Linked DNA regions of Homo sapiens: region 1 is linked to region 2. Evidence: promoter capture Hi-C in 16 types of primary human blood cells and fetal thymus (Javierre and others, 2016). All regions are on one chromosome and are shown on one strand. The core of a region is centred on a gene start or on the middle of the fragment in contact, and the rest is flanking DNA. Distances in the headings are between cores, read along the strand shown.

Region 1 (3,548 bases), core at 323-2,822, 280 kb before region 2:
ACCCATCTCCTCCCTGCACTGTGGAGATGGAGACGGGCTCCACCACGTGACCCCAAAATGGCCCCCCTCCCTACCAGACCAGCTGTTGTACCAGGCGGCCTCCCCCGACGAGGGGGCGCTGGTCACCGCAGCCCGGAACTTCGGCTACGTGTTCCTGTCCCGCACCCAGGACACCGTCACGATCATGGAGCTGGGGGAGGAACGGGTCTACCAGGTCCTGGCCATAATGGACTTCAACAGCACGCGCAAACGGATGTCGGTGCTGGGTGAGCCCCGCCACCCAAGCCCTGGGCCCCCCAAGGTGGGGCGGGCAGACGGGGAGCCTCTGTGGGCAGCAGGGCCTGTTCCCCCACAGTTCGAAAGCCAGAGGGCGCCATCTGCCTGTACACCAAGGGCGCCGACACGGTCATCTTCGAACGCTTGCACAGGAGGGGGGCAATGGAATTTGCCACAGAGGAGGCCTTGGCTGTGAGTCCCTTCAGGAAGGCTGGCTTATGTGTGTGTGTGTGTGTGTGTGTGTGTGTGTGTGTGTGTGTGTGTGTGTGTGTGTGTGTGTGTAGGGACAGGAGGAGGAGGAGGCAGGGGAGGAGACTGTACGGAGAAATGGAAGGCTGCAGGTACCTGGGATGGCTATGTACAGTGAGGTATGTTGTGCACTGTACAAAACACCCTCCCCCGGCAACACACAAAACACACACACACCGGCTGGGAGGCAGCTGAACTCCCAAGTGTAGCCCCCAGAGAGAGAGCGTCTTTTTCTTTTTCTTGTCTTGTCTTTCTTTTCTTTTCTTTGAGACAGAGTCTTGCTCTGTCGCCCAGGCTGGAGTGCAGTGGCACAGTCTTGGCTCGCTGCAACCTCCGCCTCCCGGGTTCAAGTGATTCTCCTGCCTCAGCCTCCCGAGGAGCTGGAATTACAGGCACACGCCAGTGCACCCAGCTAATTTTAATATTTTTAGTAGAGATGGGTTTTCGCCATGTGGGCCAGGCTGGTCTTGAACTCCTGACCTCAGGTGATCTGCCCCCTTGGCCTCCCAAAGTGCTGGGATTACAGACATGAGCCATCGCGCCCAGCCTGCCTTTTCTTTTTTGAGAGGGAGTCTTGCACTGTTGCCCAGGCTGGAGTGCAATGGTGCAATCTTGAGTCACTGCAACCTCTGCCTCCCAGGCTTAAGCTATCCTCCTGCCTCAGCCTCCTGAGTAGCTGAGACTACAGGCGCCCGCCACCACGCCCGGCCAATTTTGTATTTTTAGTAGAGATGGGGTTTCACCATGTTGCCAGGCTGGTCTCCAACTCGTGACCTCAGGTGATCCACCCGCCTCGCCCTCTCAAAGTGCTGGGATTACAGGCGTAGGCCACCGCGCCCGGCCAAGGGTGTATTTTTCTCATTTGCACAAGACGACCGTGCGGTTGAGCTGGCCCAGCTGCCAGGACACACTCAGCTCCGTCTGCTCCAAAGCTTCCCACTCTGTGGGGGAAGCCCGAACTCCTCGGCCCAGGATTTGAGGCTTTTTCTGTCCCCTGCTGACCTCTCCAGCCTGGTCTCTCTTTGGCCTCACCAAGGGACTCCCTAGGACCCAGTTTCTGGCTTGTGACTTCCCCACTCTCAGGTGCTGCCTTGGCACCTTTGCACATGCTGTTTCCTGTGCTGGGAGGGTCTTCCCTGCACCTTTGTCATTCAGAAGCTTTCGGTGTCCTCATGACTCAGCCACAAGCTCCCCACACATGGGGCCTTTCCTGCCCCACCCCCTGCCAACATGGGGCTGTCATCACCCCAGGCTGCCTCCCCCTGGTCCAGCCCTGACCCTACAGGGCCAGAGGATTCTGCGTCCAGCCTGGGGGCTCCTCACAGGTTCTGCTGGGGCCCCAGCAGCATGGAGCACAGGGCAGCGGGGTGTGTGTGGGAAGATGTCCTGTGTCCCCTGCTCTGCCAGGATGTGGGGGCACTCTGAACTGGAAGTGCGGTCACAATAATGACCTAGAGCCCAGGAGCTCAGCAGGTCAGCTTAGCTCAGCCACCCCAGGGAATGGATGGGTAAATTGAGGCCGGAAGAAGGGTCAAGGCCTGTCGGAGGCTGCCAATGTCCGTGAAGCTCCTCTGCTGTGTCAAGCCCAAGCTCTTGGACCCGTGCCCCATCAACAACAAAAGGGAAATCAGACATGGTGGCGCGTGCCTGTGGTCCCAGCACTTTGGGAGCCTGAGGCAGGAGGATCGCTTGAGTGCAGGAGGTGGAGGCTACAGCAAGCTGTGATCGCACCACTGCACTCCAGCCTGGGCGACAGGGCGAGACCCCTGTCTCTTAATAAACAGGCTGGCGCGATGGCTCACGCCTGTAATCCCAGTGCTTTGGGAGGCGGGCAGATCATTTGAGGTCAGGAGTTCGAGGCCAGCCTGACCAACCTGGTGAAACCCTGTCTCTACTAAAACTACAAAATCAGCCAGATGTGGTGGTGCAGGCCTGTAGTCTCAGCTACTCGGGAGGCTGAGGCAGGAGAATCGCTTGAACCCGGGAGGCAGAGCTTGCAGTGAGCCAAGATCGCGCCACTACACTCCAGCCTGGGCAACAGAGTGAGACTCCATCTCAAAAAATAAATAAATAAAAATAAATAAATAAACAAATTTGAGACCTAAGGCCACCCCTTGGAGCACAAAGCTGGGGGCAGGGTCGGGGGGTAAGAAGCCGTAAGGGCACCTTCCTTGGGGACCCCCCGACCACCCTTGGGGTGCCTGCTCTCTGGGCCTGCCCAGTTTCCTCCCAGCCCCTAGAGGCCCCAACCCTGGGTCTGGCCCTTGAGAAATGAGGGGCCCAAGGAAGGGGCTCAGAGAGCCAAAGTTGAGGGGTCAGAGGGAGGGGCCTGGGACTGGGGGAGCCCCAGCTGGGGAAGGCACCGGGTGGGTGGACTGCATAGAAGGTCTTGAGTGATAGTCAGAATTCGCCATGCAGGCCAGGTGTGGTGGCTTCTGCCTGTAATCTCAGCGTTTTGAGGCTCAGGTGTGCAGCTTGCTTGAGCTCTGGAGTTCGAGACCAGCCCAGGCAACATGGTGAAACCACCTCTATTTAAAAAATATATATATATACAAAGAAATTAGCCGGGTGTGATGGCATGTGCCTATGATCCCAGCTATTTGGAAGGTAGAGACAGGAGAATCACTTGAGCCCAGGAGTTCGAGGCTGCAGTGAGCTATGATTGGGCCACTGCACTCCAGCCTGGGTGACAAAGTGAGACCCTATCCCCCACCCCCGAGAAAAAAAAAAAAAAAGAATTTGCTGTGCAAAGCATAGGGAAGGTGTTCCTGGCAGGGAAACAGTCCTCCAAGAAGGTCTGGAGGCAAAAGAGAGCTGAGGGTCTGGGGGTGGGAGCAGGTGTCTGAGACAGAGTAGGTGGGGAGCAGGGGCAGCTCAGTTTTCTTTTCTTTTTTTTTTTTTTTGAAACAGAATCTTGCTCTGATACTCAGGCTGGAGTGCGATAGGGCGATCTCAGCTCACTGCAACCTCGGCCTCCCAGGTTCGAGGGATCCTCCCACCTCAGCCTCCTGAGTAGCTGGGAT
Region 2 (3,627 bases), core at 671-3,170:
CTGTATACCTTCCCTGCGGGGCACAGGGCCTGCTGTCTGCACTCCCAGTGGAGCTCTGTGGACTGGACATCTGGGAATGGGGCACATCTGAGGAGGATACAATTGTCCTAATGACACATTGACACATGTCCTGAGCTGACTTCTTTCTTTCTTTCTTTCCTTTTTTTTTTTTTTTTTTTTTTTTGAGACGGAGTCTCGCCTGTCTCCCAGGCTGGAGTGCAGTGGCGTGATCTCGGCTCACTGCCACCTCTGCCTCCCGGGTTTAAGCGATTCTCGTGCCTCAGTCTTCCGAGTAGCTGGGATTACAGGCACTCACCGCCATGCCTGGCTAAGTTTTATATTTTTAGTAGATACTGGGTTTCACCATGTTGTCCAAGCTGGCTTCAAACTCCTGACCTCAGGTGATCCGCCTGCCTCGGCCTCCCACAGTGCTGGGATTCCAGGCATGAGGCGCCGCGCCCGGCCTGCCCTTCTCTCTTGACCCCTTCAGTGAGGGCCTTCTTGACATCCCCGCAACCACCACCCCCCAACCTGGGGCCATCAGTGGTGGGCCTGGGCTATTTTCTCCAATAGTCCAGGTCAGAAGGTGGGGGGTCATACATTCCAGGGGGCTGCCTTACCCGCTGGCCTGGGACTGGCTGGGTTGTTCACAGCTGTGCACACAGTAGGTGCTCAATAAATGGCATATGGGTGGCTCTGCTGACATGCTACAGGCTGGAGGGCAGACTGAGTTGGACCAGCAACACCCTGTATGTCCCCAGCAAACCTCTCTCCCTGTGGTCAGCGCTGTGGGACAGCAGGGTGGGCTTCCTGGAGGAGGGGGTGCTCAGACCGAGCCTGGGTGGAGCCCAGGGAGCAGGACAGTCCCTCCACCCCCTCCTTTAGTGCCCCAGTCCCTCAGCCCGCCCGCCAGGGGGCGCCGTGGGGCGACACCAGAAACTGGTGGAGCCCAGAACCCAGGGCCTGGTCTCATCCCTGCGTGGGTGGGCACGGGGCGGCTCACAGACGCCCGGCGGGAAAGGGTGGGGTGGGGGGAGTCCCGGGGTGCCCCCTCGCGTTGCCGGTCCGCGCAGAGCCGGATTCCAGATGGAAGGTTCGCGGTGGAGATCCCTGCCGGGCCCACTGCTGGGATGGGGAAACTGAGGCCGGAGAGGGTGTGGCCGCGGCTGTGAGGGAGAGGGACCGCCTGGACCCGGGTCTGGCTCTGAAGCCCCGCTGGCAGCCCCGGGGCCCGGCAGGGAGGGCGGGAGGCGGGGTGGGGCGCGTCCCCTGGTGACAGCAGCGCCCGGGAATGCGCCAGCTGGGAGGGTCTCTCCGCCCCCCGCGCGCGGCCCACGGGGCCGAGCCTCTCCCCAGTGCGCTGGGGCCCTGCGCTGGGGGTGACCGGGACCTGGGTCGGGGAACCCCCGGATGGGAGCCCAGGCGCGCCAGGGTCCCCATCCACGAGCAGGTCGACCCCCCGCGAGAGGGGTGAGGGGCAGGACCAGGGGAGGGGGCTGTGACCGGGGATGGGGACGCCGGTGGGACGCAATCCGGGCGTCGGCGGGGTAGGGGCAGCGCCCGGGACTCCCAGACCCAGGGCGGGGTGACCTCGGTTCGCGCACATTCCCGGGCCCTGAGCGCGGCGCCCGGAATAGCAGCCCCGGGGCAGAGGAGGGCGGTCAGTCCCCGCGCCGCGCCCCCGCCCGAGCCTGCCAAGGTCACCCGGACCCGGGCGCCCGACACCAGCCTGCGGCTCCGGGACCCCTGCGCTCGCGTCCGCCGGGCAGTCCCCTGCCGCAGATCCGCGCCCGCCGCGCGAGGGCGCCCGGGGCCGCCGCCCCTCCTGACCCGGGCCTGGGCGCGCCTGCGGAGGCCGCGGTGGGAGGGACCGTCCCAGGCTCCCCACCCCGCCCAGCACCTTGGGCCCCGCCGCTTCCGCTCGCCCTGGGGCCGCTCAGGGAGCCGGGACGCGCTGCCTGGGCTCCGCGCAGCCGGTAAGTCCATCTGCCTATCCTCCCACTTTCTCCGGGGGAAACTGAGGCCCAGAGGTGCGGCTTGCCTTGAGATCCCTCCGCCAGTCCGGGCTGCAGCCCACACGGGGAGGGGAGAGCCTTGATTCTGGGCAGGGCCCATTGAGGAGGGGGTAGGGTGGTCCTTGTAGCCCCCCACTTTTCACCACCTAGACCCCCACTCCTCAAACCAGGCTTAGAGTCCGGTGGGGGTGGTCAGAAGGTCAAGCCCCCTCCCCCTGTTTTTTTTGGTTGGTTGGTTGTTTTTGAGACTGAGTCTCACTATGTCGCCCAGGCTGGAGTGCATTGGCCCCATCTCGGCTCACTGCAACCTCCGCCTCCTGGGTTCAAGCGATTCTCCTGCCTTAGCCTCCCAAGTAGCTGGGATTACAGGTGTGCACCACCACACCGGGCTAATTTTTGTGTTTTAGTACAGATGGGGTTTTACCATGTTGGTCAGGCTGGTCCCAAACTTCTGACCTCAGGTGATCCGCCTGTCTTGGCCTCCCAAAGTGCTGGGATTACAGGCGTGAGCCACCGCACCTGGCCCCCCTCCCCTTGTTTTAAGTTTCTGGTGCAGACTTCTTCCTGCTTCCTGGGCCAGCCCAGGCTCTAGGCTCAGAGAGGGGCACGGATGCAGCAGACCACACAGCTGTCTCAGTACCTAGAGATACCCAGGACCCTAGACCCTTGGTGCCTCAGAAGTCCAAATGCTGGAGCCAGGGAAACAGGGTCCAGGTGGGACCCAGCCTCTTCCCCAGCTGGTGCCCGGGCCGGGGCTCACCCACCTGCCTTCAGGCTCTGCTGGCAGCAGGACGCCCTGGCTCACTTGGCGGCTGCTTCCCTTCCCCCCTCTTTCCCCCTGCAGGCTGGGGTCATGAGGAGGGTGTGGATGGCAAGTGACTTCATCCCTGCCCTGACAGGATGGAGAAACTAAGGCCCAGAGAGGCAGTCAGCCTCCTCCCCTTCCCTGCTCCAGCCTCAGCAGTGGCCCCTTCCCTCCACGGGCTGCCCCGGAGCTCAGTCCCACCCCCTCCGCCGATGAGGCCATGAGGCACCGAACGGACCTGGGCCAGGTCACCCCCTCCCTGTCCCATCCCCAATCCGGGGGACTCCCTGCTGTCTGGGAGCTGAGGGAGCCCTGGGGCCGGGGTGCAGCTGAGGGCCTCTTCTAGGGACCCAACTCCTGATCCAGCCCCTGCCGGCCGCACCTTCCGCAGGGTGTCACAGAATCATGGACTGAGTCCACTTGGCCCCCACTGCACAGATGGGGAAACTGAGGCCTGGGAGAGTGGAGTGGCTGGCCTCAGGCCACACGGAAAGGTAGAAGCAGTGATGGTGGGGAGGGCGGGGAGGGGGCCCCAGCCCTAGGAGGCACCTGTGTACTATTTTTGAATGATCCCTCCAATCATCAAGCATCGATTAAGCACCTACTGTCTGCATTATAGCACAATACACATATCAATAATATTGTAGGCTGGGTGCAGTGGCTCATGCCTATAATCCTAGCACTTTGGGAGGCCAAAGCAGGTGGATCACTTCAGGTCAGAAGGTTGAGACCAACCTGGCCAAGATGGTGAAACCCTGTCTCCACTAAAACGGCAAAAATTAGTCCGGCGTGGTGGCAGGCACCTGT

What was found. The method cuts DNA at HindIII sites, captures the fragments that hold promoters and counts their contacts. A CHiCAGO score of 5 or more calls a contact.
Region 1: a contact is called between a fragment that was not itself captured here and the fragment with the promoter of ADAMTSL5 in region 2, in 1 of 17 cell types (naive B cells). The highest score is 5.4, in naive B cells.

The regions. Positions count from the first base shown.
Region 1 is chr19:1,792,795-1,796,342 of GRCh38, reverse strand. It overlaps ATP8B3 (ATPase phospholipid transporting 8B3), which reads left to right. Exons shown (of 29, transcript NM_138813.4): 17 at 78-266; 18 at 356-468. Among named protein-coding and RNA genes, the nearest start is that of ATP8B3, 18 kb to the left of the region's middle. RefSeq lists a silencer at 219-513 and enhancers at 219-513, 1-733. The HindIII fragment of the contact is 226 bases long and covers 1,460-1,685 here.
Region 2 is chr19:1,511,312-1,514,938 of GRCh38, reverse strand. It overlaps ADAMTSL5 (ADAMTS like 5), which reads left to right and starts at 1,920. Exons shown (of 12, transcript NM_213604.3): 1 at 1,920-1,976. RefSeq lists silencers at 807-886, 1,726-2,095. The HindIII fragment of the contact is 11,901 bases long and covers 1-3,627 here.